2 separate regions of the Homo sapiens genome follow, and region 1 is linked to region 2. The links are contacts of gene promoters, found by promoter capture Hi-C in blood cells and fetal thymus (Javierre and others, 2016). All regions are on one chromosome and are shown on one strand. Each heading gives the region's core, a stretch centred on a gene start or on the middle of the fragment in contact. The rest is flanking DNA. Distances are from core to core; before and after follow the strand shown.

What was found. Contacts are between HindIII fragments. The CHiCAGO score rates a contact against its expected background, and 5 or more counts as called.
Region 1: a fragment that was not itself captured here is called in contact with the fragment with the promoter of ZRSR2 in region 2 in 5 of 17 cell types (non-activated CD4 T cells, total CD4 T cells, naive CD4 T cells and 2 more); the score reaches 9.3 in non-activated CD4 T cells.

Annotation. Positions count from the first base shown.
Region 1 is chrX:16,667,078-16,670,889 of GRCh38, reverse strand. It overlaps CTPS2 (CTP synthase 2), which reads left to right. Exons shown (of 19, transcript NM_175859.3): 11 at 216-310; 12 at 3,166-3,228; 13 at 3,333-3,376. Among named protein-coding and RNA genes, the nearest start is that of S100G, 19 kb to the right of the region's middle. The HindIII fragment of the contact is 3,321 bases long and covers 597-3,812 here.
Region 2 is chrX:15,789,154-15,792,548 of GRCh38, reverse strand. ZRSR2 (zinc finger CCCH-type, RNA binding motif and serine/arginine rich 2) reads right to left here and starts at 2,065. Exons shown (of 11, transcript NM_005089.4): 1 at 2,013-2,065; 2 at 1,536-1,615. The coding sequence starts at 2,053. RefSeq lists enhancers at 578-1,079, 1,738-2,187. The HindIII fragment of the contact is 2,263 bases long and covers 1,279-3,395 here.

The sequences.
Region 1 (3,812 bases), core at 1,008-3,507, 880 kb before region 2:
TTGAGGTCAGTTGTGAGAAATTGTCACAATTTCTTCATAACATTGGGAAGATTTCAGAAAAAAAGTTCAGGGTGTGAAGTCATATAATTGGTTCTGAAAATAGAGCTTGAGCATAGTCACTAGTGATTGGACCAAGCATTGCACGAATGGCTGAATACACTAGTTTAAAAAAAAAATGGATAGTCAAGTTTACCCTCATTTTGTATTGATTTCAGTGGTATTCTTGTGCCTGGAGGCTTTGGAATCAGAGGAACATTGGGAAAACTCCAGGCGATTTCTTGGGCAAGGACAAAGAAGATTCCTTTTCTGGGTAAAACTCATGTTTATTGACCCTAACTATGAGTTTATTAGATTTTTGACACCTAGGAGGGGTAACACTAAAGGTTTGTTATCGTAAAGGTGTGAACTCGGATTTGAAAGTTCAGGTGCCAAATAGTCTGCTATAGGGTCAACAAACTATATTCTAAATTTGGCCCACAGCCTGTTTTTATGAATAAAGCTTTATTGGAACACAGCCACACCAATTTGTTTACATATTGTCTATGGCTGCTTTTGTGGTCCAACGTCAGAGTTTCAGACCCTACGGCCTAGAAGCTTTACTATCTGAAAGAGGCTAGAATCTTTACTATGTGACCCTTTACAGAAAACGTTTCTCATCCTAGGAGAACTTGCTGCTATTCCAGCTGGGTAGCAGAGGCTGGGAGAAGGCTCCATCTGCAACTGTGCTTACCTTCTCCAATTCCCACCTCAGTCTCCAGAGTAGCTGGGACTACAGGTACACACCACTGTGCCTGGCTAATTTTTGTGTGTGTGTGTGTTTTTTTTTTTTTAAGAGATGGAGTCTTGCTATGTTGCCCAGCCTGGCCTCAAACTCCTGGGCTCAAGCAATCTGCCCACTTCAGACTCCCAAAGTGTGGGGATTACAGGCTTGAGCCCCCGTGCCCGGCCGAGTTGAGCCTTTTTAATGCTTTTTTTTCAAATTGCGAAGTACGGCTTCTGTACCAGGGAAACCAGAGGAAATGGGACCTTGATGCGGGAGAGGCAGCCCTGTAGCTGGGGACTCAGGCAGGAGGGGGAGTGCAGAGAGGCTGTGTTTCCCACTGTGCAGTGGATGGCTGGGTGGGTTTATGAGCCCATTGGACAGGCTTTTAGTGCCAGCAGACCATTTATTTCCCCCCATTACCTGCTCTTTGATTAGCTTCTTAGACTCTCTCCTCTTAGGATCCATTTTCAAAATAGAAGACTGGAGTAGTTACCTGGATACCTTGTTTTCTTTTACTGGTCTAAGCTCGTTGGGGGCCATTGTTTTTTTTTTTGAAGTTTCTGTCTAAATGTGGGTAATGTTCCTCAGATTATTTTAATAGTATGGAATGGTTTGCAGGTCTTTAGCTTTCCCTCTAGCATAGCATCTCTTTATGTCCCAGCCATATGGAACTTTCTGAAATCCCCCTCACCGCCACCCCCACCCCCCAGCACTCAGCTGTTTCCTGCTTATTGACTTCTGTTCTGGCATCCCTGATATATTGATTGCTCCCTTCTTTGTTTCCCCTGTGTACATCTTAAGTATCTATCGGAGGAGCATCTGGGATGCTCTTTGGCATTTGTTTAGTGGAGAGAATTGGTGAACTGCAGTGAAGGCGGAGCTGGGTCTGGGAGCATCCCTGTGGCAACAGGCTTGGGCGACACAGGTCTGCCTTCCTTCATCACCGAGCACTCTGTTCAGGCCCATCGTGTCTCCTTCCCTGCTGCCCACCATGCTCAAGCCCACTGTGGAGTCTCCAACCCCCACCCCCCACTGCTGCTTTTCCTTACAGTGAAGGCTATGGGGCTGCCTGTGGGTTAGCAGCCTGACGTCCTGTAGGCACTCAACCTCTGGCCAAGCCTGTGTTTATGGCTGTGAAGTCACCATGAGAAGGAGTGGGAAATCTTAGCCCAGGAAACTCCCTCTGAGTTGGGGTGTTAGATGTTCTCTGAAGGAATCAGGCACTGCAGCCCACTAAGATGCCTCAACTCAGGGACAAATCTAGAAGGTGGCAGATTTGTCTCATGGACTCTGCCTCTTTCTTTCCTTCTTTCCTTCCTTCCTTCCTTCCTTCCTTCCTTCCTTCCTTCCTTCCTTTCCTTCCTTCCTTCCTTCTTTCTTTCTTTCTCTCTTTCTCCCTTCCCTCCCTTCCCTCCCCTTCCTTTTCCTTCTCCTTCCTTCCTTCTTTCTTCCTTCTTCCTTCCTTCCTTCCTTCCATCCTTCCTTCTTCCCTTCTTCCTTCCTTCCCTCCTTCCTCTCTCTCTTTTTATTTTCTTTTTTTTTGAGACAGAGTCTCGCTCTGTCGCCCAGGCTGGAGTGCAGTGGCGCGATCTCTGCTCACTGTAAGCTCTGCCTCCCAGGTTCACGCCACTCCCCTGCCTCAGCCTCCCGAGTAGCTGGGACTACAGGCACCCACCACCATGCCTGGCTAATTTTTTTTTGTATTTTTTTTTTTTTAGTAGAGATGGGGTTTCACCATGTTAGCCAGGATGGTCTCGATCTCCTGACCTCGTGATCCGCCCAACTCAGCCTCCCAAAGCGCTGGGATTACAAGTGTGAGCCACCGCACCCAGCTCCTCCTTCCTCTCTTTCTCTCTTTCTTCTCTTTCTTTCCTTCCTTCTTTCTCACCCAGCCTGGAGCACAGTGGTGTGATCTCAGCTCACTGCAACCTCTGCCTCCCGGGCTCAAGTAATTCTCCTGCCTCAGCCTCCCAAGTAGCTGGGACTATAGGTGCATGCCACCACACCTGGCTAATTTTTGTATTTTTAGTAGAGGCTGGTTTCACCATGTTGGCCAGGCTGGTCTCGAACTCCTGACCTCAAGTAATCTGCTCACTTTGGCTTTCCAAAGTGCTGAGATTGCAGGCTTGAGCCATTGCGCCCAGTTGACCCTGCACTTTTCTGACCTCATGTTCCTTCTTTGTCAACTTTGGGACTTAGGCGGCTTCATGATAGTCTAAGCCCCTGCCCTGCTCTCTGTCAGGGATTCTTCTGAGAGGACAGCAGGGAGCAAAACAGGCAGAGTCTTGCTCTCTGGGAGTCTGCATTCTAGATAGGGGAGACAGGCAGCCAACAAATGAACAGAAAATGTGAACAAATACAAAGTGAGTTCATTTGCTTTGCATATGTGCTTTTTAAAATAGGAGTTTGTCTTGGGATGCAACTAGCAGTGATAGAGTTTGCAAGAAACTGCCTTAACTTGAAAGGTAAGTTCGAGGTTTGCTAATGACCATTTATTTAAAAAATTTTCTCTCTTCAAATATTTTTCAGCACTATTGGTGAATTACTGAACTCTTTTCTTAATCTTCAGATGCTGATTCCACAGAGTTTAGGCCAAATGCCCCAGTTCCTCTGGTAAGTGGCTTGTTTATCTTTCTGGGTCCAGTCATTGTCACTTGGGTCCTGGCTCTTGCCTAAATTCATAAGGGGCTATTGGCTGGGCGCCATGGCTCACCCCTGTAATCCCAGCACTTTGGGAGGTCAAGGCGGGCGGATCACTTGAGGTTAGGAGTTCAAGAGTAGCCTGGTCAACATGGTGAAACCCCTGTCTCTACTAAAAATACAAAAATTAGCTGGCTGTGGTGGCAGATGCGTGTAATATCAGCTACTCGGGAGGCTGAGGCAGGAGAATTGCTGGAACCCGGGAGGTGGAGGTTGCAGTGAGCCAAGATCATGCCACCGCACTCCAGCCTCAGTGACAGAGTGAGACTCCTTCTCAAAAAAAAAAAAAGGCGGGGGGGGGTCTATTATTATTTTTTCTTTACAGCACCAGAACATTTTAAATTACATT
Region 2 (3,395 bases), core at 816-3,315:
ATTGTGAGGAGCATTAGTTTCACATCATCCCTAGCATTACCTGATGTAGATTTAAATTTTACCGAATGTGTAATTTCATTTAGTTTTATAATTTATAAATGTATTTTTATTTGTTTGTTTGTTTTTTGAGACAGAATCTCACTCTGTTGCCCAAACTGAAGTGCAGTGGCAGGATCTCGGCTCACTGCAACCTCTGCCTCCCAGGTTCAACTGATCCTCTTGCCTCAGCCTCCTGAGTAGCTGGGATTACAGGCACCTGCCACCAAGCCCAGCTAATCTTGTATTTTTAGTAGAGGCAGGGTTTCATCATGTTGGCCAGGCAGGTCTCGAACCCCTGACCTCAGGTGATCCATCTGCCTCGGCTTTCCAAAGTGCTGGGATTTCAGGCATGAGCCACCACGCGCCCAGCCCATATATTGTTTTATAGTCAAACAATGGCTTCAGGTCAGGTGTGGTGGCTCATGCCTATAATCCCAGCACTTTGGGAGGCCGAGGTGGAAGGATTGCTTGAGGCCAGGAGTTCGAGACCAGCCCAGGCAACACAGTGAAATCCCGTCTCTACGAAAATTTTAAAAATTAGCCAGGTGGGCCAGGGGCGGTAGCTCACGCCTTTAATCCCAGCACTTTGGGAGGCTGAGGTGGGTGGATCACCTGAGGTCAGAAGTTCGAAACCAGCCTGGCCAACATGATGGGGTTTCACCCCATCTCTACTAAAAATACAAAAATTAGCCGGGTGTGGTTGCGCACGCCTGTAATCCCAGCTACTCGGGAGGCTGCAGCAGGAGAACTGCTTGAACCCAGGGGGCGGAGGCTGCAGTGAGCCAAGATCGTGCCACTGCACTCCAGCCTGGGCAACAGAGCGAGACTCCGTCTCAAAAAAAAAAAAAAAAAAAAAGAAAAGAAAAGAAAAAATTAGCCAGGTGTGGTGGTGAATGCCTGTAGTCCCAGCTACTAGGGAGGCTGAGGTGGGAGGACTGCTTGAGCCTGGGAGGTGGAGGCTGCTGTGAGCCGTGGTTGTGCACATCCCTCCTGGGCAACAGAACAAGACCCTGTCTCAAAAATAAATAAATGAGCTTCATAACTAGTATTATGTTGATATATATTTGAATAACATAATAATTTGGGTAAACCAAGGGTCTCATATTAGTCAAGTTTGAGAAAAACTTGCAAAACGTCTAATTAATACCTTCAACTCCTGCTGGTTTTACGAAGAAAAACATTCACCGAATACTTACTACGTGTGCAAGGACTGTGCTAGCTGCTGTAATTCATGAAGCTTGCAACTGTAATATTAGATACTTTATAAGTTACACAGAATCAGTGGGCGATCATTCACCAAGACTTCCTCTTCCTGCCTTTAGTATGTTAACATTGTTTCTGACATGTGTTTCTAAATAACTACTTGGGGGCAGAAGTCACAGCTATTTTTCCTCCGACACAATATTTGACTTCCTTCTGACACTGGGGCTTCAAGTTAGGGCTGGAGTGGACAGAGCAATTTCACAACACAGAAAACAGAATAAAGAGTCCATCACCTGAGTCTCTCAGTCGAGCAAGTTCCTGCCGACGTTTCTTTCGTTTCTCCTTCTTCAGGGCGGCCCTGTACTTTTTGTGGCTGGAAGATTAAGACATATACACGACGATCAGCGGCTACAATGCAGCGCTGCCCGAGCTCCCCGCTCCTCTGTGCCCAATGAAAGGAAATAGTTCGGGTGCTGAGGAGAGAAACCTTGCTTCCTGTATTTTAATTACAGAACAGCCATCTATCATCGCCTCATCCTCCCACTCCCAGACAGTTCTTCTCCATCCGCCAACCTGATCCTCTCCTCGCTTGCCTGAGCCACAGCCGCCCGTGCAAGTCCGGGGAGGGCACCAGAGCGCGCACCAGGAAGGAATGGAGCTGCCGCGGTGGCTCACTTAGCTTGGCCCAGCTTCTCTTTTCTTCCTGCCACCACATCCTCCATGCCCACGATCGGCCCGCTCGCCTGCTCATCTCCCCGTACGGCGCTTACCTTGGTTTCTCGGGAAACGTCATCTTCTCGGGCGCAGCCATCTTGCCGGCACCGCCCCGCCCCTCCAGGTCTGGCAGGAAAGGGCGGGCCTAAGAGTCGAGACGGGCACGCGCAGGCGCGGGTACCGAGCAACCTCCACCAGCGTGGGACTTGAAACGGAAAGCCGGAGGTACCCTTCGGCGGCTCGTCTTCCAGAACCCTGCTCAAATAAATACCTCCTTCCAGCAAAAATACTCTGGGGCTTTTACCCCGCCCTAGAAGTAATTGTCGCTTCAGCACTTGCCCAGTGCTGTATCACTGTCTCCCTCCTCGCCCTAGCAGGACGTGTTGTGGCTAGGCGGTTAAAGTCGTACTCTGCCGCTTTTCTCAGCATCCACTCATGAAGTCACATCGCGCACAGAGCTGCTCGCCCGGCTTTATTTCCGACCTGTCCAGGTTCCGCGTCCTTCCGCCGATCCACCTATCAGCGCCTCAGACAAAGCTCCAGACTTCGCTCCCTGCCAGTCACACCTGTTCTGGTCCCTTAAGCAAACCTAACTCCCAGGGCTGCAAAGCTGTTACCTCTGCCCCTGAGGAGTTTACAATCGAGGGGGCAGAGAAGAACCAATACATAATATGATGCAGGCAAAGATGAAGTTTACCTAACATAGTCCACCAAGGGATTCAGGGAGAGCTCTCTTTTTTTTCCTTTTTTCTTTTTTTTTCAGTATCACATGCGACTCAACTGCAGTATCAGGGACAGCTTTCTGATGCTAAGAGTTGAGTTTGGAAAGAAGATGCCCTTTACCCAGAAGGAGAAGGGTGGGAATGCAGTTACAGTCAGATCAGCATAAGCAAAGGCGCTGAAAGGTGAAAGTGGAATATGCTGGGAACAGCAAGAATTTTGGCAATCGAATTTATTTATTTATTCATTTCTTATATATTAGAGACAGGGTCTTGTCTTTCACCCAGGTTGGAGTGCAGTGGCGCAATCACGACTCGCTGCAGCTTCGACCTCCTGGGGTCAAGCAATCCTTCCACCTCAGCCTCCCGAGTAGCTGGGAATACAGGCGCGAGCCACCACGCCCGCCCAGCTATCCAATTTAAAGTGCAGTTCGAGGCTGGGTGCAGCGGCTCACGCCTGTAATCCCAGCACTTTGGGAGGCCTAGGCGGGTGGATCACCTGAGGTCAGGAGTTCGTCAGCCTGGCCAACATGGTGAAACCCCGTCTCTACTAAAAATACAAAATTAGCCGGGTGTGGTGGCACATGCCTGTAGTCCCAGCTACTCTGGAGGCTGAAACAGGAGAACTGCTTGAACCCAGGAGGTGGCGGCCGCAGTGAGCCGAGATGGCACCACTGCCCTCCAGCCTGGGCAACAGAGCAAGGCTCCGTCTCAAAAAAA